Regions from separate parts of the Homo sapiens genome. Here all the other regions are linked to region 3. Evidence: promoter capture Hi-C in 16 types of primary human blood cells and fetal thymus (Javierre and others, 2016). All regions are on one chromosome and are shown on one strand. The core of a region is centred on a gene start or on the middle of the fragment in contact, and the rest is flanking DNA. Distances in the headings are between cores, read along the strand shown. Region 1 overlaps MIGA1 (mitoguardin 1). Region 2 overlaps FUBP1 (far upstream element binding protein 1). Region 3 holds the start of ZRANB2 (zinc finger RANBP2-type containing 2). Region 4 overlaps FUBP1 (far upstream element binding protein 1). Region 5 has its middle 3.7 kb from the start of USP1. Region 6 has its middle 10 kb from the start of DNAJB4. Region 7 has its middle 2.4 kb from the start of MIR6068.

Region 1 (3,081 bases), core at 318-2,817, 6.7 Mb after region 3:
ATGTTATTCCAGTAGGCCTGTTCTCACTATTAACAATCCTTTAAATTTTATTGTGGTAAGGTACAAATAACATAAAATTGACCATTTTGATCATTTTTAAGTGTATAGTTCATTAGCCTTAAGTACATTCACATTGTTGTACAAACAATATCCAGAATTTTTTTCATCTTGCAAAACTCAAACTCTACAACTGTTTATCAACATCTTACTGTACCTCCTTCCCGTCATTCCCCACCACCATTCTGTTTCCTGTCTGTATGAATTCGACCAGGTACCTCACAAGTAGAACCCTACAGAATTTTTTTGTGACTAGCTCACTTTACTTAGCATAATGTCCTCAAGGTTCATCCATGTTGTAGCATATGTCAGCATTTCCTTTCTTTTTAAGGTAGAATAATATTTCGTTGTGTGGATATACTACATTTTGCTTATGTGTGTGTTTGTTGATGGACATTGGATTGCGTCCATGTTTTTGCTATTGTGAATAATGCTGCTATAAACATGGACATACAAATATCTCTTTGAGATCCTGCTTTTAATTATTTTGTGTCAAGTGAAATTGCTGGATCATACAGTAATTCTACTTTTAATTAAATTTATTTATTTATGTATTTATTTATTTATTATTATTTTTTAGAGGCAGGGTCTTGCTTTGGAGTACAGTGGCAAGATCATAGCTCACTGCAGCCTCAAACTCCTGGGGTCAAGCAATCCTCCCACTTCAGCCTCTCAAGTAGCTGGGACTACAGGCATGTGCCACCATCTCTCCACCAGTTTTTAAATTTTTTGAAGAGACAGAGTCTCAGCATGTTGACCAGGCTGGTCTTGAACTCCTGGCCTCAAATCATCCTCTCACTTTGACCTCCTAAAGTACTGGGATTATAGGTGTCAGCTGGTTCACCCAGCCCTATTTTTAATTTTTTGAGGAACTGCCATACTGTTTTTCACAGTAGCTGTACCACTTTACGTTTCTACCAATAGTGCACAGTTTTTCCACATAGTGCACAGTTTTTCCACATCCTCATCAATGCTTGTTATTTTCTATTTCATTGATAGTAGCCATCCTAATAGGTATGAGGTTATATTAGTCCGTTTTCATGCTGCTGATAAAGATATACCCAAGACTGGGCAATTTACAAAAGAAAGACGTTTATTGGACTCACAGTTCCACATGGCTGGGGAGGTCTCACAATCATGGTGGAAGGTGAAAATCACATCTCATATGGCGGCAGACAAGAGCTTGTGCAAAAAAACTCCCATTTTTGAAACTGTCAGATATTGTGACACTTACTCATTATCATGAGAACAGCAAGGGAAGGACTTGTCCCCATGATTCAGTTACCTACCATTGGGTCCCTCCCACAACACGTGGGAATTCAAGATGAGATTTGGGTGGGGACACAGCCAAACCATATCATTCTGCTCCTGGCCCCTCCCAAATCTCATGTCCTCACATTTCAGAAGCAATCATGCCTTCCCAACAGTCCCTCAAAGTCTTGACTCATTTCAGCATTAACTCAAAAGTCCACAGTCCAAAGTCTCATCTGAGACAAGGCAAGTCCCTTCCACCTATAAGCCTGTAAAATCAAAAGCAAATTAGTTACTTCCTAGATAGAATGGGGGTATGGGCATTGGGTAAATATGGCTATTCCGAATGGGAAAAATTGGCCAAAACAAAGGAGCTACAGGCCCCATGCAAGTTTGAAATCCAGCAGGGCAGTCAAAAATTTTTTTTTTTTTTTGAGAGGGAGTTTGGCTCTTGTTGCCCAGGCTGAAGTGCAATGGTACAATCTTGGCTCACCGCAACCTCTGCCTCCCGAGTTCAAGCGATTCTCCTGCCTCAGCCTCCTGAGTAGCTGGGATTACAGACATGTGCCACCACGCCTGGCTAGTTTTGTATTTTTAGTAGAGATGGGGTTTCTCCATGTTGGTCAGGCTGGTCTTGAACTGCTGACCTCAGGTGATCTGCCTGCCTTGGCCTCCCAAAGTACTGGGATTACAGGTGTGAGCCACTGCACCCGGCCAGGGCAGTCAAATATTAAAGTTCCAAAATGATCTCTTTTGACTCCATGTCTCACATCCAGGTCATGCTGATGCAAGAGGTGGGTTCCCATGGTCGTAGGTAGCTCTGCCCTTGTGGCTTTGCAGGGTACAGCCTCCCTCCCGGCTGCTTTTATGGGCTGGCATTGAATGTCTGTGGCTTTCCCAGGTGTATGGTGCAAGCTGTTGGTGGATCTATCATTCTGGGGTCTGGAGGACGGTGGCCCTCTTCTCACAGCTGCACTAGGCGGTGCCCCAGTAGGGACTCTGTGTGGGGCCTCCGACTCCATGTTTCCCTTCTGTACTGCCCTAGCAGAGGTTCTCCATGAGGGCCCACCCCTGCAGCAAACTTCTGCCTGGGCATCCAGGCATTTCCATACATCTTCTGAAATCTAGGTGGAGGTTCCCAAACTCCAATTCTTGATTTCTGTGCACTGGCAGCCTCAACACCATGTGGAAGTTGCTAAGGCTTGTGGCTTGCACCCTCTGAAGCCACAGCCCAAGCTCTATGGTGGCCCCTTTCAACCATGGCTAGAGTGGCTGGGATGCAGGGCACCAAGTCCCTAGGCTGCACACAGCACGGGGACACTGGGCCTGGCCCCTGAAACCACTTTTTCCTCCTAGGCCTCCTGGCTGGTGATGGGAGGGGCTGCCGTGAAGACCTCTGACATGCCCTGGAGACATTTTCCCCATTATCTTGGGGATTAACATTTGGCTTCTCTTTACTTATGCAAATTTCTGCAGCCTGCTTGAACTTCTCAGAAAATGGAATTTTCTTTTCTATGGCATTGTCAGGTTGCAAATTTTCCAAACTTTTGTGCTCTGCATCCCTTATAAAACTGAATGCCTTTAACAGCACCCAAGTCACCTCTTGAATGCTTTGCTGCTTAGAGGTTTCTTCTGCTAGATACCCTAAATCATCTCTCTCAAGTTCAATGTTTCACAGATTTCTAGGTCAGGGGCAAAATGCCACCAGTCTCTTTGCTAAAATATAGTAAGAGTCACCTTTGTGCCAGTTCCCAATGAGTTCCTCATCTCCAT
Region 2 (3,364 bases), core at 715-3,214, 6.9 Mb after region 3:
AAACTGGTGTGACAATAGCAATAAAACCACACATTGTCTCTTACAGGGTGCACACTTGAAACCAAACCTGATCAAGGTAGCAATCAATAGTCTTCAGGTTTTAAACCCCATTGTAAGAGTTACTCATTTTAGAGGCAAATTAACAATGTAAAATGGTAGAAACAGGCATATGCATCAAGAAAATTCATTGATGTTCCCTTAAAAAACTACAACCTCTGCAAACTCCTATATCCCTGTGGAAAGCTAATAGTAAACACTTTAGACTTTAAGAAAAACCAAATTCTTGGTAAATAAGTTGGTAATATTTGACACTCCAATCTTAAAAGATGTTCAAGAAAAGCTTATTTCACTCTTCCAATCTAAAGGGCAAATGTGATTTATTTTGCCCAGTTGGAAGTAGAGAAAGAACTCTTTCCCTGCCCCTTCAGACATGTACTGCCTTACCTTGCGCTCCCCTTATTCCTCTCTTTAGTTACTGGATTTTGTTTTGAGACAGGGTCTTGCTCTGTCACCTAGGCCAGAACACAGTGGCAGTGGTGTGATCATGGCTTAGTTACTGTTTGATGCCAGATAGTTGAGTTTATACTTCAGTAGAACATTATCTAATATTTATTATAGTTTTATAATTATAATGTATAAAGTTTAGCCTTAAATTTCTTTCATCCCAAAGATAAAAGACTTGCTCTAGAGTTAGCTTGCAAGATTCTATTAGAGCCTAAGAGCCAGCCTTGCATGAATAGATTTTCACACTCAGTTGTCTTCCCATATAACTGTACCTTTCCCACAAGTCCTCACTCTACCCTCCTTTAGGCTTAAGGTACCAGATTCTTCAGGGTTCAGAGTCTACCACATCAGTCCTTATCATAATGGCCTTCCTCAAGTCAAACTTTTCCCAAATGTCTTCACTTCTCCAAACAAGAATTACTCCTTTCTATTTTGAAACCCTGTTTGTTCTCTTAAGGGTCTTAAAAAAATCCCTGTATTCTAGCTTTAAAAACACCCATCTTTACTGCTGTTCCTTATAAGCCTCTGAAATCTTATCAAGATTTTCTCTACTTGGGAGGCTGAGGCAGAAGAATTGCTTCAACCTGGGAGGTGGATGCTGCAAGTGAGCCGAGATCATGCCACTGCACTTCAGCCTGGGCGACAGGGAAAGGCTCCATCTCAAAAAAATAAAATAAAAAAAAATAAAATAAAAATTTATCCTCTTAGTTTGGTGTTATCCTTGGGAACTTAGAATTGTTTTGAAATATAAACCTAATTTTGGGAAACTTAACCCACACCTGTTTTCAATAGTTTTTTTTTTTTTTCAGTAAATAAGCAAATAATGACAAATTAAAATCTATGAATGGAGTTTTCTGTTCTTAACAAGAAAAACTTAAATTAGGCTCCAAAAGCTGTGAAAGCCTGCCTAGTTTGGCAAAAGGGGCACTAGGATGGGGAATCAGGAAATCTGAAGTCCTAGCATCATACCCCTGCCACTGGAAAAGTCAACAACAGTTGGCTTTGAGATAAAGATATCTCCCTATTATTCCCTTTCTCCTTCCATTTAAGAAATGTGAAGACTGAACCAAGTTTTATGCTTTAAGGTTTCTTATTTGTGGTAAAAAGATCCTGATGACAGGTAAGGTACCTAGAAGAAATTAAAGCAGTTAAGCAACTAATCATTTACAAAAAGAACTTTTATAGAAAAAGACAAATTGACTCCGTATGATGATGACAAATGCTCATCAAGCACCTGACTAAATTACCTAGCATTATTTCCTTTAAGATATACACATGTGGCCAGGCGCAGTGGCTCACACCTGTAATCCCAACACTTTGCGAGGCTGAGGCGGGTGGATCACCTGAGGTCAGGAGTTCGAGACCAGCCTGGCCAACATGGTGAAACTCTGTCTCTACTAAAAATACAAAAATTAGCTGGGTGTGGTTGGGCGCCTGTAATCCCAGCTACTTGGGAAGTTGAGGCAGGAGAATAGCTTGAACCCAGGAAGCAGAGGTTGCACTGAGACGAAATCGCACCATTGCTTGGGGAGTAAGACCAAGACTCCGTCTTAAAAAAAACAACAACAACGAGATATGCATGTGAAGGACTTGCCCAACTAATCTGTTTTGCTCATAAAATTAACAGGTGAGGCTGGGTGCAGTGGCTCACACCCATAATCCCAACACTTTGGAAGGCTGAGGCAGGTGGATCACCTGAGGTCAGGAGTTTGAGACCAGCTTGGCCAACATGATGAAAGCCCGTATCTACTAAATATACAAAAAATCAGCCGGATGTGGTAGCAGGCGCCTGTAATCCCAGCTACTTGGGAGTATGAGGCCGGAGAATCGCTTGAACCTGGGAGGCGGAGGTTGCAGTGAGCTGAGATTGCGCCACCGCACTCCAGCCTGGGCGAGAGTGAGACTCCCTCTCAAATAAATAAATAAATAAAATTAACAAGTGATTATTGTGGTACTACAGAACAACAACAGAAAAGGTGGGGTAAGGAGGTTCTTTAGTCATACAGCATTATTATTTAACATCTAATTATTATTTAATTATTTCTATGCCATGTTTTCCTACAGAGGATTCAAGACAGTATAGTATAGTATCTCTAACTGGCAGGGAAATGGTAAAAAAAAATAAAAAATTAAAGACAAGGTAAAATGTCTTCCCTTAACAATAAAAATTAGAATTCCACCCACCCACTCATTTTGAGTAAAACATAAAAAGTAAAACAAAAAAGACTAAACAGTAAATGTATTAATGGCCATATTACAAATAATCAATATGGTAAAATAAAGCACAGAAGCCAAACTCATTCCTCCATAATTACCTAAATCCATTAACAAGCCTTTATTTTTACCTACTTAATAATAACTAGGGACCCTATCTAGGGGACATTACCCATTGAGAAAATAGAAGTTGAAGTTAGTGATTTTTAACCCAAACACGTGACCAGGTCTCACTATGATGCCAAGGCTGGCCTCAATCTCCTGTGTTCAAGGAATCCTTCCACCTTAGCCTCCCAAGCAGCTGGGACTACAAGTGTGTGCCACCGCACGTGGCTCATGCTCAAGTCTTTTAAAATGGTGATGCTATTTAATTAAAGTTAAGTTGATTACAGGTCCTGACCACAATGCTGTCAGGGCATGATTATTAATAGCATCCCTATTCATTCTAAAAAGGATCCCAGTTCAGAAAATAAATTATGTAACCAACCTTAATCAGAGTATGCTGTTTTTAAGTTAAAAGTTTCTTTTTGCCGAATTGTAGCTACTGTAGATCTGCCTAAGCTAGGTCACAAAAACATAATCTGTTAAAGCCTCAGAAAGAGACGGAACATGACTCTCCTAGGAAGCCATTCTAAGAGGAAAAACA
Region 3 (2,921 bases), core at 54-2,553:
GACACTGACAAAAGCACATTATTTTACAGGTAACAACAAAGTCAGAAGTTGTTGTTCTAAATCTTTTGAACGTTTTCAATAATGTCTTACCACTCAGAGCAATACTATCCATAACATATAACTTTGGTTCTATTCAGTATCATTTGTTAGGCTTGAACTACTCCTTCAGGTCATCTTAATATCAAATTACTATCAATAGCCACCAATTAGAATTTGCTACACGTCACTGTTTACACACCCTATCCATGTTATTTCATGTTTTCATTAAAAAAAAAATTCTATTCCTTTTTTAGCAGTTAAATAAGTAATAGAATTTTAACTAAACCCAGGTTTATTTCAAAGTTTTTGCTTTTTACAATCAAAACCTATTTGTGGCTAACTTAGGTACAACAAATAAAAGGCTTTTATGTGAACATGAGTTGTACATTAAATTATTTTCCATGTTATTTCCGAATAGATACACCTATTTGTGCACCCTTCAAAAAAAATCTGATTAACTATCTAGTCGAGTACTGGCTTTGGCAACAATGTCAAAAAGCAGAGCCACTAACACACGTGCTTCTCTGCTGCAGGCATCTTAAGGGCTGAGTAGGCAAAAACACAGGCCTCTTCCCTCCTTTTCGGCTCTAAGGAGGCGAAAAGCCCAATTCTTGTGGAGAAATGATCCACAAAGAAAATGTCAGAATTTCCCAAACCGAAGAGGGTAGAGCTTCCGGAAAAGGGGAAAATAGTATGGAGGAAAAGTTTGAGTAAAAATACAAAACAAGGTGAACTATAAGAGGCAAAAGGACGAGTGCGAGAAAGCAATATTTTCCGTGAACAAGAGTAAAGTTCTGCAGAGAAAAGTCACGTGGGGGAGATCCAACACCAAGCTGGCCTGACTGGAGAGGTTTCCTATCGCTAAAACCTGGCCGGGGCGGGGGAGGGGGGTGGGGGCAAAAAGGTAGGCCATCTCGCACTCTAAAAAGAGAGGCTACCTTGCGGAGGTAATGTCGAGGAAACGCTGAAGACATATCTAGAACAAAGGCTCCCGGAAAGACCTCTCTCGTGAGGAGATTGGGAGCCTTCTTCCCGCCAGGGAACTGGCGGTTCGCCGCCTCAACCCGTCTTAAGGCACAGAAAATCATAAAAAAGGAAAATGCCGGACGGACCTCGGAAAGCTTCCACTAACAAACTCCGTCCCAATTCAGGACCCTTCTTGAACTCACTTTTTGTCAGGGCAAATCCAGTCCCCGTCACTGACTCGGAAATTCTTGGTCGACATCTTGAACGCCACCAGCACAGCCACCCGCAGCTATGTCTTCACAGGAGGAAAACGGGCCGGGGACTTTCGGCAACTCGGGGCTGTCCCCACACTGCCTGACTCGCGCCTACTACTGTGTCAGGGTTTGATAATGAGGGAACTAGCCAGGAATTCAGCTTGTACGTTGTTGTCCAGACTAAGATGCCTGTGCTACTGTTTGTTAGATGGAAAAGTTAAAATACAAATATCTTTTCTAGAACTAAACTCACAGGCGCCATAAGGACAACCCAGGCAGGAGGCCTTCGTGGCACTAGAAGCCTCGGAGAGCCCCCTACAGGTGGGAGGACCCAAGAGTAAAGTACTTCCGCTTCCTTAGGTGGAGCTGGAAAGGTGGAGGCGGAAGTGACTGATCAATTCAGGGGCGTGGGGTTCGTTTAGGGTAAGAGGCGGCTCGGGCTCTTCAAGTGTTTAGAGAAATTATTTTAATAAGGCATAAAAATTCTGTTATTTCATACACATGGGATGTCGTTTGGAAACCTATTTTTATATATACATAAATAGGTGTAACAGATAAGTAAGCAACTTATACATGGGAACCAGCTGGTAATTTTAAAACTGAGACATTGTCAACACTGTTTAAATTACCAGTGTCTTTTCTGATACCATCCCATTACTTTCTTCCACAGATAACACTTTCCCATATTTGGGATTTATTCTTTTGCTTTTTAAAAATTTATGTACGTTGTTAGTCCAAACTGCACCATTTTTGTAAGCCCCCCTGCCATTTTGCAGACCTTAGTCAAAGTGAAACATTCCACGGGGTTCGGGCGTGAGAAACAGGCTGCCTCTTATACTCTGCTGGGAGAAAGTACCACATTCCACTGGAACAAGGGCCAGAGCCGCCTCGTCCTGGGAACACCTTATCAACATGTTCCCAGGAAGCAGGCCATGGCCCCCCAGACCACTCCCACCCAGGCCTATAAATCACCCCAGCCTGTAAGAAGCAACGGGCACTGGCATTAAGCTGGTCTCCCACCTCTGTAGGTCTTATGCTGGACATAAATCCTGTATTTGTTGTTAAGCCACCCTCTCTTTCTTTAATCCTTGCCTTCCCTTCAAAACCTAACATACATGTATGTTTAATTTTATGAGCTGTGTAAGCATAGTTGATTCTGTACTCTTTTTTTGTTCATTATGCTTCTAAATTAATCCTAGGTAGTTGCATGTAGAAGTGTATAGGTGTAATTCTTTTATTTGCACTGATGTATACTGATACTATTCCGTTTTGTGGTTTTGTGACAGTTTATTCCTTCTGTTTCTCAGGCTTGGTATTACAAACAACACCAGTATGAGCATTCTTATGCATAGATTCTGGTATATAAATGCATTAATTTTTTTTAGAATACAGCATATACAGTCATGCCTCACTTAATGATAGGGATATGTTCTGAGAAATGCCACTTTCGGCAATTGTGCTGTTGTGTGAACATCATAGAATGTGCTTACACAGGCCTAGCAGGTATAGCCTACTACACACCTAGGCTATATGGTATAGCCTATTGCTCCTAGACTACAAACCTGCATTTAGTACATCTTATTGTACTAAATACTGTAGGCAGTTGTAACGCAGTGGTATTTGTGTATCTAAATATAAAGGTACAGTAAAAATATGGTATTG
Region 4 (2,964 bases), core at 243-2,742, 6.9 Mb after region 3:
TGAATTCAGTGATGTCCCTGCATCACCTCCAATTTTTGCTGCAATCTAAAAAAAAAAAAGAAAAATACCATCATAAACTATTATATACTATTCATTACTAAATTACCCCCATTTACTTCCTGATACATGTATATGTGAAATATTTAGTATCACATAAGAAAATTTACTTGAAAAATTAAAATTATAGTTCAATTTATTGCTACCATTAATACTTCAGGCAGTTAACATAATAATCATAAGATTATTAAACTTCTGATACATCCCTATAAGAAGCAACAAAGAAGTAATCAACTAGGAATCCGGAAGAGAGACCAGATTTAAAGAAAATCTGGATCCTATCTGGCTCTGTCATGACACTTCAAAAGATGTGTGTAAACACATAGAATGTGAACACTTTGTGGGACTCAAAGGCTATGCTATCTAGTAAGGTAGCCACTAGCCATATGTGGTTATTGAGTACTCAAAATGTGACTAGTCTGAAATGATACTTGCTCTAAGTGTAAAATTACTCACTGAATATTGAAAACCTGGAATATAAATCATCTTAAATTTTTATATTAAGCACATGCAAAGGGGGTAATATTTTGGATATGCTGGGTTAAACAAAACATGTGGCTCACATTGTACTTCTATTGGACAATGTTGTTCTAAGGATATATGTAGGAGTCCAGGGAGCTCGAGTCTTAAAAAAACCTCAGCTGCAAAACCATAATTCTTAGAAGATTTTTAAATTTTAGAGTAGGGCAAATAATTTATTGCACCTGACTGAACCAATTTAAGAAATACCCAGCTTTGCTGTCATGGTGGCTCATGCCTGTAATCTTAGCACTTTGGGAGGTGGAGGTGGGTAGATTGCTTGAGCTCAGGAGTTCGAGAGCAGCCTGGGCAACATGATGAAACTCCATCTCTACTAAATACAAAAATTAGCCAGGTGTGGTGGTGCACGCCCATAGTCCCAGCTACTCGGGAGGCTGAGGCACGAGAATCACTTGAACCCAGGAGGTGGAGGTTGCAGTGCACCAATATCATGCCCCTCTTGGATGACAGAGCAAGACTGTTACAAACAAAACAAAACAAAAAAAATAAAAAACAAAAAAAAAAACCTGGCTTCAAGTCACAAGTAGGGCACAATCAGCAGATACTTACTGAATTTTTCTATAAAAGGACAACCGAAGTAGTTCCCATTTCCATGGGGAATCATGGAGTGGTTCTGCCACATTGCTGAGTGGTCAGCAATAGGCCAAGCTCCACACTGCAATGCTGTACATTCATTATTGATGTGTGATGGGCTCATGAGAATTTATTATATAATTCTTTCAATTTTGAGTATATTTGAAATCTTCCATGAAAAAATATTAAAGAAAACCTAACTTTTGGTGACTGGGATTCCCCAAAGAGATCCCCATATGGATAACTGCTTCAAGTTTTTATTATCATCAGACAACTGGAGAGGGTAAAATTATAGTTAAGTGCTGAAGTCATAAATTCAACATGGATCACTTAAGTCTATGTATCAGTTCCCATATACTAACTTCATCAGACAACTGGAGAGGTTAAGATTATAGTTAAGTGCTTAAGTCATAAATTCAACATGGATCACTTAAGTCTAATTACATATCAGTTCCCATATACCAACTGTATTTCCTAGGACTCATAGATTTCCCTTTTCCTCATCTAAAAATGCAAACACCTACCACAAAGATTATTAGGATCAAGTACTAGATTGCTTGATAAAAAAAAAAAAAGGTACACTCTCAGCCGGACACAGTGGCTCATGCCTGTAATCCCAGCATTTTGGGAGGCCAAGGCGGGCAGATCACTGAGGTCAGGAGTTCGAGACCAGCCTGACCAACATGGAGAAACCCAGTCTCTACTAAAAATACAAAGAAATTAGCTGAGCGTGGTGGCGCATGTCACCCAGCTACTCGGGAGGCTCAGGTGGGAGAACTGCTTGAACCCAGGAAGTGGAGGTTACGGTGAGCCAAGATCACGCCACTGCACTCCAGCCTGGGCAACGGCATGAGACTCTGTCTCAAAAAAAAAAAAAAAAAAAAGGTAAATTCTCGCTTTGGTCAATCTAACCTTCTTTAACCATCTTTCACTTTACCAATTACAAACCTGTTTTTGTTTCTGGGTGTCTAATTTAAATCTTATTTTCCTAATAATGCCTGAAAACACTGCTTTTCCACCCTTAGGTCTTAAAGCACTTAGCATTTGAATTGTTCCTCAGGAAAGTAAATACACTGCTGGGTATCGACAGGCACTAATAGTAGAAGGAAAGTATTTCAGGCCAGAGAAAATGGTGCTACCAAGAATAGGAAACGGTTTAGCCTATGAATACCTTCTGCAGTTAGCTTTTATAAATACTCTATGAGTTTGCAAAGCAGCACTCCTTGAACTCCAAGACACTTCTATACAGAGAAAAGACACTTATTTATACAACTTTACCCACTGAATAGTTCAAAAACTAACCAAATGAAAATGAAAGCTGAGGCCAGGCGTGGTGGCTCATGCCTGTAATCCCAGCACTTTGGGAGGCCGAGGCAGGGCGGGGGGGATCATGAGTTCAGGAGTTCAAGACCAGCCTGACTGACATGGTGAAACACCACCTCTACTAAAAATACAAAAAAAAAAAAAAAAAATTAGCCAGGCACAGTGGTGCGCACCTGTAATTCCAGCTACTCGGGAGGCTCAGGCAGGAGAATCACTTGAACCCGGGAGGCAGAGGTCGCAGTGAGCCAAGATCGCACCACTGCACTCCAGTCTGGGTGACAGAGCGAGACTCTGTCTCAAAAAAGAAAAAAAGAAAAGAAAAGAAAAGAAAAGAAAAAATGAAAGTTGACAGTTCACACTAAAGAAACAGTAACAGCATTTCAAAAACTGAGAACTGTTACAAAGACATTAGAGAAAAGTGTTTAATAAAAATACCAATAAAGAAGCCAGGCTCAGTGGCACCTGCAGCCC
Region 5 (3,176 bases), core at 553-3,052, 8.6 Mb before region 3:
TGGAACTGACAACTGGAGGTAGTCTTTGCAGCTTGGGAGCAAGTCCCTCCTTGAAGGGGGATCTGGGCAGCTCATCTCCATATCTACCACAAGGGCAAACAGATACCCAGCATATTCTCTTTTCAAGGAACCAAAAGCTGTACAGTACTTTTCCATTTTTCATCTTTTGGGGATATCTTCACCAGCTGGGGATTTTTTTTTAACCTGGTAAGGGAGGCATAGCAGAGAATGCTATTTGTCCTCTAATATCCATTCTATCCTTCTTCCTTAATATTATAACCCCTGATTTTTAGTTGGGTATATAGCCACCCAGAATAATGTTGTCAAATGACTAAGTTCTGGCCAATGGGCTATAAGTAGGAATGGTGTGTACAGCTTCCAGGAAGTATCCTTAAAGAGAGGGGACCATGGTCATCTCTGTCCTTTTTTCTTTCCTGCATAGGACTGTAGACATGATGGCTGGAATTTAAACAGCTATAAAGGACCGAAAGGTAGAAGCCACATGTTGAGAATGGAAGAAATTAATTAGGTCCCTGATGGTCACAGAACCACCATACTAATCTAGACTGCCTACTTCTGCATTATGTATACATGATAAAGACATGAATATTAATTTTAGCTAAGGACACTTAAAAATATTCTGTTACTTATAAACAAACCTATTCCTATCGGATGCAGAGTTTGGTTCCTATAAATTTGTGCTACACATAACCTTAAAAGAAATGTGGTTTTTAGTGGAAGCATTTGGGCAGTGGGTGGTAAAGACTCAGATACTGCAAGATGGAAAACTGGTGACCTTTGTTCTCCAGTTGCCAGACATTTGGTAAACCTGTTGCCAGCTTTAGAAGACAGATCACACGCCAATCAAAATTGTGGCACGAAGGGAAATGGCTGGAAATATCTATAAACTTGGTATTTGCTGGCTTTTTCTTGACACTTTAAACCAAGTTCTATGAGATATGAATTCAGGCCAGAAGTAACCAATTTGCATGTAGAAATGGAAAAGAATACAGTTTTGCTAAAGGAGAAATTCTGCTGTAATCCAAGTGGATTAAAAGTCTCATAATTTGGGCGGGACGTGGTGGTTCATGCCTGTAATCTCAGCACTTTGGGAGGCCGAGGCGGATCACGAGGTCAGGAGTTCGAGACTAGCCTGGCCAACACTGTGAAACCCCGTCTCTATTAAAAATACAAAAATTAGCTGGGCGTCGTGGCAGGCACCAGTAATCCCAGCTACTTGGGAGGCTGAGGCAGGAGAATTGCTTGAACCCAGGAGGTGGAGGTTGCAGTGAGCCAAGATCATGCCATTGCACTCCAGCCTGGGGGACAGAGCAAGACTCCATCTCAAAAAAATAAAAATAAAAGTTTCATAATTTGAAGATTTAAAGGGCGGAAAAAAACCACACTTCTTCTATACCTTTAGACTGAAGTACAGTTGGCCCTCCACATTCATGGGTTCCATATACATGGATTCAACCAACCACAGATCAAAAAATCTTATGAAAAAGGTACACAAAGTTCCAAAAAGCAAAACTTGAATTTGCCACGTGCCAAGTGTTAAATACTATGTTAAATCCATGTGAATGATGTGTAGGCATTGTATTAGGTAATTAAGTAATCTAGAGATGATTTAAAGTATAGGTGGGATGTGCATAAGTTGTATGCAAATACTATGCCATTTTATATATGGGACTTGAGCATCCTCGGATTTTGATATCCATAACGGTCCTGGAACCAATCCCCCATGGATACCAAGGGATGACTGTACACAGAAACAGTGCCTGTGAAACTTTGGAAGGAAATATGCCTGGCATTTACCCACACAAGACTGACAAATATAGGATTGAGAATGCTGTGAACCTATTAAATCCCATTGTTTCCAAAGGGATTAGCTGTCATTAAGAGTGGGGTAACTGGGGAGCACACAGAAACTGGGAAAAAAGTTTCGGGGCTTAAAAACTCATCTAGGCAAGAACTGTGGCTAGAATTTCTCCCACAAACAACTGACTGAAAGCAAAAGAATGAGAAGCATATTAAATTTTTACATTAATCATATTGCCAGAGACACACCAAACTTCTGCTATTGCTGTTGACAAGCACAGTTGTGGAGGTGTTTGATTTTTCTGAAGCAGCATTAGCAGAAACCTCAGTGTCTAGCCACTTGTCCTGTGGGCCTTGACAGACGGGACGTAGGATATGCATGGCACTGGTGCAGATCATAGTGGGTATAGTGTGGTTCTAGGGTCAGCGGTGCACGCAGCTTTCTGATGGTGGTTTCCTAGGCATGGCAGCAGCAGTGTGATTCAGAGACGTCATTTCCTGATCATAGAAGAGTCATTGCTTCCTTGGTGGCCTGGTTCTGGGAAGACTTTGGGACTCATTCCTGAAAAACTAATCTAGAGCCTATTTAATCAACCCTCCCAAGTATTCAATATCTTTGTGTTTATACTAGCTAAAATGGATTCTATTTTCCGCAAATGAATCTTAACTGATACCACACATTGTGTACAGGAAGAATAGTGGCTGCAGACAATAGGATCTCAGGAATATGGGAAAGTAGAATTGCTTATCTGTTCTCGTAGAGTTTGAAAGTAGCAATAATTATGCTAGTACTAGAAAATGAGACACTGCCACTCTGTGGTGCACAATGGCTAAGACTGACCTATATACATTTTCTAATCTTGTCCTTGTGTATTTCGTGATCTGCTGGTTCAACATCTGTTTGTACGTTAAACACCTCAATCTTAATATTCTAAGAACGATGATCCTTCCCATTGAGCCTACTAAGACCCCCATTTTAGCAAGGACCAACACTGAGTTGCTCAGGTTAAAAAAAAAATCGTTACTCTTTGTTTTTTTTTCTTTTTTCGGGTGGGAGGGTGGAGGGCAGGGCCTCACACTGTTGCCCAGGCTGGAGTGCAGTGGTGCATCTCGGCTCACTGCAGCCAGGGGATCCTCCTCCCTCATCCTCCCGAGTGGCTGGGACTACAGGCACGTGCCACCACGCACGGCCAATTTTTGGAGTTTTTTGTAGCGATGGGTCTTGCCATGTTGCCCAGGCTGATCTTGAACTCCTGGGTTCAAGCGGTCCACCGGCCCTGGCTACCCGACCTGTTTTTTCTTACATTATCATACAGCCAATCCATCAGTAGAGCTCGTTGGCTGTGCTCAAAATA
Region 6 (3,309 bases), core at 480-2,979, 6.9 Mb after region 3:
CAGCTACTCAACTCTACCGCTGTCTGGCAAAAGCAACAATAGACATTAGGTATTACTTTATATAGTTATAGTATAAACTCCTTTTTCTTTTATTTTTTTTCTTTTTTGAGATCGAGTCTCGCTCTGTCACCCAGGCTGGAGTGCAGTGGAACAATCTTGGCTCACTGAACCTCCACCTCCCGGGTTTAAACAATTCTCCTGCCTCAGCCTCCCAAGTAGCTGGGACTACAAGTGTGTGCCACCACATCTGGCTAATTTTTTTGTATTTTTAGTAGAGATAGGGTTTCACCACGTTGGCCAGGCTGGTCTCGAACTCCTGACCTCAATTGATCCGCCCTCCTTGGCCTTCTAAGGTGCTGGGATATAGGCATGAGCCACCGTGCCTGACTTATTTATAGTATAAACTCCTTAAGGGTAGGGACTATGTATTATACTGTTTTATCCTTCATGTTACATGTAACAGTATAGCACAGTGGGGTCTCAGTAATGGTTGGCTTGATATGCTGATTTGACCTAGATAACAAAAAGTTTATATTTTTGAAATATTAATAACTTGAACATTAAAACCCATCCATTTACAGTTAATTTATTTTAGAGATATATTTTTCTCTAAATATCCTTCTTTAGACAATTATAATAGTTCAAGCTTATGCATTTGGAATTAGGTAGTCAATGGCTGAATTTTATAGTAGTTGGTAAATACTATAGGACATACGGGCTTATTTATATAAATGTTCTAATACTTATATTTGGTAGCCATTATTAAAGTCTTCGAATCATAGTTAAGTCTCCATGGTAGCAGTGGTTTCGTGATTATGTTTTAATGGATGCAGTATACGATAAAGTTAATTCATAGTTAAAGTTTGGTACTGATTTAAATTAAATCATTTGAGAGGCCAGGCACAATGGCTCACACCTGTAATCCTAGCACTTTGGGAGGCGGAGGTGGGAAGATAGCTTGAGCCCAGGAGTTCAAGACTAGCCTAAGCAAAATAGGGAGACCCTATCTCTACAAAAGAAAAAATAGCTAGACATGGTGGCACATGCCTGTAGTCCCAGCTATTTGGGAGGCTGAGTTGGGAGGACTACTTGAGCCCCGGAGGCTGAGACTGCAGTGAGCCATAATGAAACCACTGCACTCTAGCCTGGGTGACAGAGCAAGACTGTCTCAAAAAAAAAAAAAAAAGAAAAAAATTATTTGAGAATTGTAAACAATTAGCTAAACAAACTTGCTAAATAATCAGTTTGTTGCAGTCTTGGCTAAGAGCCTAATAATTCAATGAAACAGCTGCATATCCTCTCCTCCTCTTGGGCTACAGACATTTTTTTTCTGTGTACTCCTTAAACTACTCTCTCTCTTTTTTTTTTTTTTTAACTACTCTCATTTTTCTAATGAGCCAATTAAGATGACATCTCAGGCCACATATAAGAAAAGAGTATGAGAAGAGACATTTTAGAAAAGATAAAAGTGAAAATCACGTAGATTCCTCATTTCCAAGTGTTGCTTTTACAATTAAACATTGTGAAAGTGTATGTCAACTGAGCATGTGTAAATACATTCCTACTACCTTAAGTGTAAAGTATTATTTTGAAAAAAATTATCATATTGTTTATATGGATGAACAATGTAGTACTATTTTATAAGTAAAATAGAGTTCACCTGTTAAGACTTTATTTACCCTAAATGTGCATGTGAGAGGTATGTATGTGTGGTATACTTGGGCTGAGATTCACAGGCTGAGATTTCTGAAAAATTGGATTATAGTACTGCCGACTAGAAGGAACCACTAGATCTGCACTGTCCAACACAGTAGCCACTAGCCACATGAGACTCTTAAGCTACTGAAATGTACCTATCTGAATTGAGGTCAAAGTGTAAAATACATGCTGTATTTCAAATATTTAGTACAAAAAATAAAGAATGTAAAGTATTTCATTGATAATTTGTATTTTGATTATATGCTGCAATGATAATATTTTGGATTTACTAGGTTAAATAAAATACATTATTAAAATTAATTTCACGTTTGTTTTTACTTTAAAAAAATATGGTTTCTGGAAATGTGGCTTGCATTTGTAGCTTGCTTTATATTTCTGTTGGACAGCACTGGTCTAAATAGTGTGATCTTTCAACACAGGCAAAATGTTATAATGAAATATTAGTTTATCAAGACCCATTTAAAATGATGTAGAAACTCTAGCTCTTTTTAAAATTTTTTGGCTAATACAGTGTTTTTGGTTTTGAGACAGTCTTGCTCTGTTGCCCAGGCTTGAAGTGCAGTGGTGTCGTGATCATGGCTTATTGCAGCCTCATCTCCCTGGGCTCAAGTGATCCTCCTGCCTCAGCCTCCCAAGTAGCTAGGACTACAGGTGCATGCCACTACATCTGGCTAATCTGTTTTATTTTTTGTAGATACGAGGTCTCACTATGTTGCTCAGCTGGTCTTGAACTCCTAGACTCAAGTGATCCTTTTGCCTTGGCTTCCTAAAGTACTGGGATTACAAGTGTGAGCTATCACCCTGGGCCTAACTCAGTGTTTAAAATCAGTGTAAAGAACACTTTATTTTAAATTAGCTGGGTGTGGTGGCACATGCCTGTAGTCCCAGCTACTTGGGAGGCTGAAATAGGAGAATCACTTGAACCCGGGAGGCGGAGGTTACAGTGAGCCCAGACTGTGCCATTGCACTCCAGCCTGGGCAACAGAGTGAGATTCTGTCTCAAAAAACAAAACAAAACAAAAAAAGAACTCTTTAAATTATTTCAAAATGCCAGAAAAGTATATTAGCTCGCCATACATTCACTAGTCATTAGCAAGCTTTCAAGGACTTATTGTAAAAGAGGGTAACAAAGAAGGGCTAGTTGTTGCTTGAATATTTTATTCATCCCAGTTAGAATAAGTTAGTTCTATACTCCCCAAAAAAGGAAATGATATATATATTTTTTGGATACAGGGTCTTATTGTGTCACTCAGGTTTGAATACAGTGGCATGATCACGGCTCACCTGCAGCCTTGACCTCCTGGACCCAAGCCATCCCCCTGCCTGAGCCTCCTGAGTAGCTGGGACTACAGGCACATGCCACCATGCCTGGCTGATTTGTAAATTTTTTGTAGGGATGGAATTCTCACTTTGTTACCCAGGCTAGTCTCAAACTCCTGGGCTCAAGTGATCCTCTCACCTCGTGCTTCTAAAGTGCTGGGATTACAGGTGTAAGCTACTGCACCTGGCTGATTTATTTTTTTAAGTATAAAATATGTCTGATCCCCTGGGTGTCTCCAAATCTAGTAATTTCTATACATTTAAAGCAAT
Region 7 (3,085 bases), core at 365-2,864, 7.8 Mb before region 3:
TTCCCTCCCAGGCTCTGAGCCTCCTGACATCCTTGCTTATTCTCAGGCCCCGGAAGCCTAGGTCGAATCTCGAGAAGCTGATTTCCTCCTTTCCCCCGCCTGTGTCCTGGGAGGAACAGAGTCCCGAGGGGAGTTTGTCCTAAAGATTGGGAGGCAATAAAGTTTAGTGATGAGGAAACATTGACTTGGAAGCAATTAAGAGTTATATTTGAGGTTATTTATTTCACATGGTTTATAGGGTGAGTCTTGGTAGTGAGAACATGAAAGGCTGACATGAGTGTGTGAGAGGTGGGTATTTTTAACGTGAGTCCCTTGAGAAACTGTCCTGAGGGGTATGTGATCTGAAAGAAAGTGGGTTCCAGAGCCTTGTGTCCCCGGACTCCACCTGTGTCCCCGGTGGTACAAGCTGCAGAATAAAGTAGTGAAGGGAGGAGGTTGGAAGGGCATTCTGAAAGTGCCAGGCTGAACCTTGTGGGGAGCCGTCTGTTTCAAGGGAGGAGGCGACAGGAAGAAGCGGGATGAGAAAGGCCTTGCAGAAGGCGTTCCAACAGGGATTAGGCATTTCCTAACTGTGACTTTGGACAAGCTGCTTGGTTTCTTTCAATGACTGCATTTCCTCGACCCTACAGTGAGAATGAGTCTGCCTGTCACCTGGGCTTACAGAATTAGGTGAGTTGGTGTCAGTGAAAAATGTCTTATAAACTGTAAAGTGCTGGGGGCGTGTACAGTGTGTTTTTTAATGGCTTCTGCACGAAGAAACAACTCTGTTCTAAGCACTGGTACACGGCCAAATACATTGGCTCGGTTCTGAACCATTTGATTTTAGGTATGAAAGGTGGATTTTTCTAAGAGGGGTTGCAGAACCCATCCCAGGAAACTCCCACCCCAGAAGAGGCTTTTAAAAGGTGGAGCTTCCTCCTGGTCTGTAGGCCTTTCACTATGCCTGCGGAGAAGCTCTCGGTGCCCACCCATCCTTCAGCCTGCACCCCCAGCTCCAGGGGCAGGGCATACGTCTCTCTTCTCTCTGGCAGAGCGGCCTACTCTGCTGTTTGCCCCTATGCTTCCACTATCCGAGGCAAGTGGGGAAATCTGAGTCCACCGCTGACAGACTCCCATTAGTGCAAGATGCGGCCTGGGAGGCGAATTAAAGGTAACCAGATCCCAAACTCACTTAAAAGACCACCCTCCCCTTGCTGCCCTCCAACAGTTGGCAGAGTTACACCCAGAGCCAACTTCTCTCTTCGCCACTCCCCCTCCTTGCCCTCTGAGGAATGTACAAGCCATTCTTTGCTCCCTGGGGTACACAAAACAAAATTTGAAAAGAAATGTAAAACTAGCCAGGGTGTCTGTAAGAAAGCATAACCATCTCATTTTTATTTCCCGAAGTGCCGTCATATATTAGAATTTTCCTAAATGCAGAATTAAATTGGTCCCCTCCCCCATTTTAACATAAAACTGCTACCTAAGGCTCTTCTCCAGATCATTTGTGCTTTTGCACACAGCTCCATCCCATCAGGGGTGAGGCGGGGAAGAAGAGGGACACCTTCACTCTCTTGCCTGAGTCCTCTGGTGCTGAATTCCGAACCCGTCTTCAGAAAAACAGTCCTAGAATATCGGCATTAGAAGTGGCCTCCGGGGTCACCCTGGAGGCCCTCTTTTCACACAGGCCCACCCAGAAGGTTCTGGGACTTACCCAGGGTCACTCAGCAGCCCAAGTGCAAGCTATGGAAGTACTCGGAGGAGGAAAAAGTGTGCTTTACCCAGCAAGAAGGCGCCACTTGAGGAAACAAAAACAGCAGACTCTGGGGCAAGGAAGATTGGGGAGGGTTGAGAGGAGAAGGGAAAGACAGACACAGACGCGCCGGGCCGGTGGAACTCAGCTCCGGGAAGGCTGTGGACCTGGACCCTGGGGCTCCCCGCTGCCTGGGCGCCTCTAGCCCGGCGATGAGTGGTTCTGCGGGGACCGACGGCCCCATTTCCTTCTTGCCTCGTGATGTGGGAGGGAAGAAAGAAGGCGGCAACTGCAGGCCCGAAGCTCCCCTCGCCCAGCGGCCCAACCACAGTGCTGTCGTGTCGGGGATCGGTCCCCAAGGGAGCCCCCAACCCCCTGCCCACGCCGAGATCACCCCCGTGCCAACCTCGAGGGCTCGGCCTGCGGGACTCCAGCTGCCCCTGCCTGGAGGGAGGGAAGGGAGAAGAGAATACGAATTAATTACGAAGGAAACCCAGGTGTGAAAGGCACCCGCCGCGGAGCTGGGCGTGCAGCGGGGCGCGCGGTGGGACCTCTGCTCCCGTCCCCGTCCCGCGGCTACTCAGTTGCCCGCTCATGGGAGGCTCGCGACGGAAAATAAATCCCCTCAGAGTGAACCTGGGAGGCCGAGAGGACCCAGCCTGGGATCTCTGGGGGAAATAGGGGCAAGTTTACCACGGTTTAATTAAGCCACAGCCCTAGCACGAGGACCCCGGCGACCCATCCGGGCTGGGGGATGGACTGGAGTGCCCCCCACCCCAGGCCGCGAACCGGCAGCGAGAAGCACACTCTCCGCCATCCCCGGCCCCGCCGCTTCCGCCTCTGCGGACTCCGCGTTTGCCATGCTCCTTCCCGGGGTCCAGGGACCGGAGCTGCGGTGCACGTCTTATTGAAGGGGAGAGCTTTGGTTCTTTTCCTCCCTGCATCCCTCCCACTTTCCTCTCAACAGATAGTAAGCAAGACTCAATTTTCTCCAAAAAAGCCCGTTACCCCTTTCTGCAAGGGGCGCATGCCTAGGTTCACAGGGAGCTCTCTTGTCAGCCCCAGAACAACCCTAAACTCCAAATGTTCTGTTTGCTCTCGAGGTACCCCTGGGATGCAGCGTCTCCTCCGCGAAGCCTTCCTGAGCCTCCCTGCCCAGACCAGTTGCTCCTTCTTGAAGCTCACCGTGCCAATTAATGAGCCATTGTCATTAGTGTTGCCCTCTGAGTTCCTGGTGAGTTCCTGACCGTCTAGCATTGCTGAGCACAAAGGGGACGATCTAAATTATTTGTCTGATGAATAACAGCTTCGCACCACGGGAGCGGGGATAGGGGATCTTGAAGGCTGTTAACT

Evidence for each region. The method cuts DNA at HindIII sites, captures the fragments that hold promoters and counts their contacts. A CHiCAGO score of 5 or more calls a contact.
Region 1: a contact is called between a fragment that was not itself captured here and the fragment with the promoter of ZRANB2 in region 3, in 5 of 17 cell types (non-activated CD4 T cells, total CD8 T cells, naive CD8 T cells and 2 more). The highest score is 20.4, in non-activated CD4 T cells.
Region 2: a contact is called between a fragment that was not itself captured here and the fragment with the promoter of ZRANB2 in region 3, in 7 of 17 cell types (total CD8 T cells, total CD4 T cells, naive CD8 T cells and 4 more). The highest score is 23.2, in total CD8 T cells.
Region 4: a contact is called between a fragment that was not itself captured here and the fragment with the promoter of ZRANB2 in region 3, in 4 of 17 cell types (activated CD4 T cells, naive CD4 T cells, non-activated CD4 T cells and 1 more). The highest score is 8.9, in activated CD4 T cells.
Region 5: a contact is called between a fragment that was not itself captured here and the fragment with the promoter of ZRANB2 in region 3, in 6 of 17 cell types (total CD4 T cells, naive CD8 T cells, total CD8 T cells and 3 more). The highest score is 18.2, in total CD4 T cells.
Region 6: a fragment that was not itself captured here is called in contact with the fragment with the promoter of ZRANB2 in region 3 in 1 of 17 cell types (non-activated CD4 T cells); the score reaches 6.0 in non-activated CD4 T cells.
Region 7: a fragment that was not itself captured here is called in contact with the fragment with the promoter of ZRANB2 in region 3 in 1 of 17 cell types (activated CD4 T cells); the score reaches 6.2 in activated CD4 T cells.

Annotation. Positions count from the first base shown.
Region 1 is chr1:77,783,619-77,786,699 of GRCh38, forward strand. The region is part of intron 2 of MIGA1 (mitoguardin 1); the gene reads left to right. Among named protein-coding and RNA genes, the nearest start is that of MIGA1, 5.5 kb to the left of the region's middle. The HindIII fragment of the contact is 3,599 bases long and covers 1-3,081 here.
Region 2 is chr1:77,951,073-77,954,436 of GRCh38, forward strand. All of the region lies in intron 18 of FUBP1 (far upstream element binding protein 1), which reads right to left. Among named protein-coding and RNA genes, the nearest start is that of FUBP1, 26 kb to the right of the region's middle. RefSeq lists a silencer at 56-115. The HindIII fragment of the contact is 3,252 bases long and covers 339-3,364 here.
Region 3 is chr1:71,079,732-71,082,652 of GRCh38, forward strand. ZRANB2 (zinc finger RANBP2-type containing 2) reads right to left here and starts at 1,304. Exons shown (of 10, transcript NM_203350.3): 1 at 1,209-1,304. The coding sequence starts at 1,264. It overlaps ZRANB2-DT (ZRANB2 divergent transcript), which reads left to right and starts at 1,593. Exons shown (of 4, transcript NR_046217.1): 1 at 1,593-1,682. RefSeq lists an enhancer at 1,254-1,543. The HindIII fragment of the contact is 3,322 bases long and covers 1,159-2,921 here.
Region 4 is chr1:77,969,971-77,972,934 of GRCh38, forward strand. It overlaps FUBP1 (far upstream element binding protein 1), which reads right to left. Exons shown (of 20, transcript NM_003902.5): 2 at 1-45. Among named protein-coding and RNA genes, the nearest start is that of FUBP1, 7.6 kb to the right of the region's middle. The HindIII fragment of the contact is 4,235 bases long and covers 1-2,964 here.
Region 5 is chr1:62,431,802-62,434,977 of GRCh38, forward strand. No RefSeq gene overlaps it. Among named protein-coding and RNA genes, the nearest start is that of USP1, 3.7 kb to the right of the region's middle. The HindIII fragment of the contact is 3,951 bases long and covers 1-3,176 here.
Region 6 is chr1:77,993,226-77,996,534 of GRCh38, forward strand. It overlaps a transcript of DNAJB4 not described here. Among named protein-coding and RNA genes, the nearest start is that of DNAJB4, 10 kb to the right of the region's middle. The HindIII fragment of the contact is 2,170 bases long and covers 645-2,814 here.
Region 7 is chr1:63,327,836-63,330,920 of GRCh38, forward strand. No RefSeq gene overlaps it. Among named protein-coding and RNA genes, the nearest start is that of MIR6068, 2.4 kb to the left of the region's middle. RefSeq lists an enhancer at 2,349-3,085. The HindIII fragment of the contact is 4,446 bases long and covers 1-3,085 here.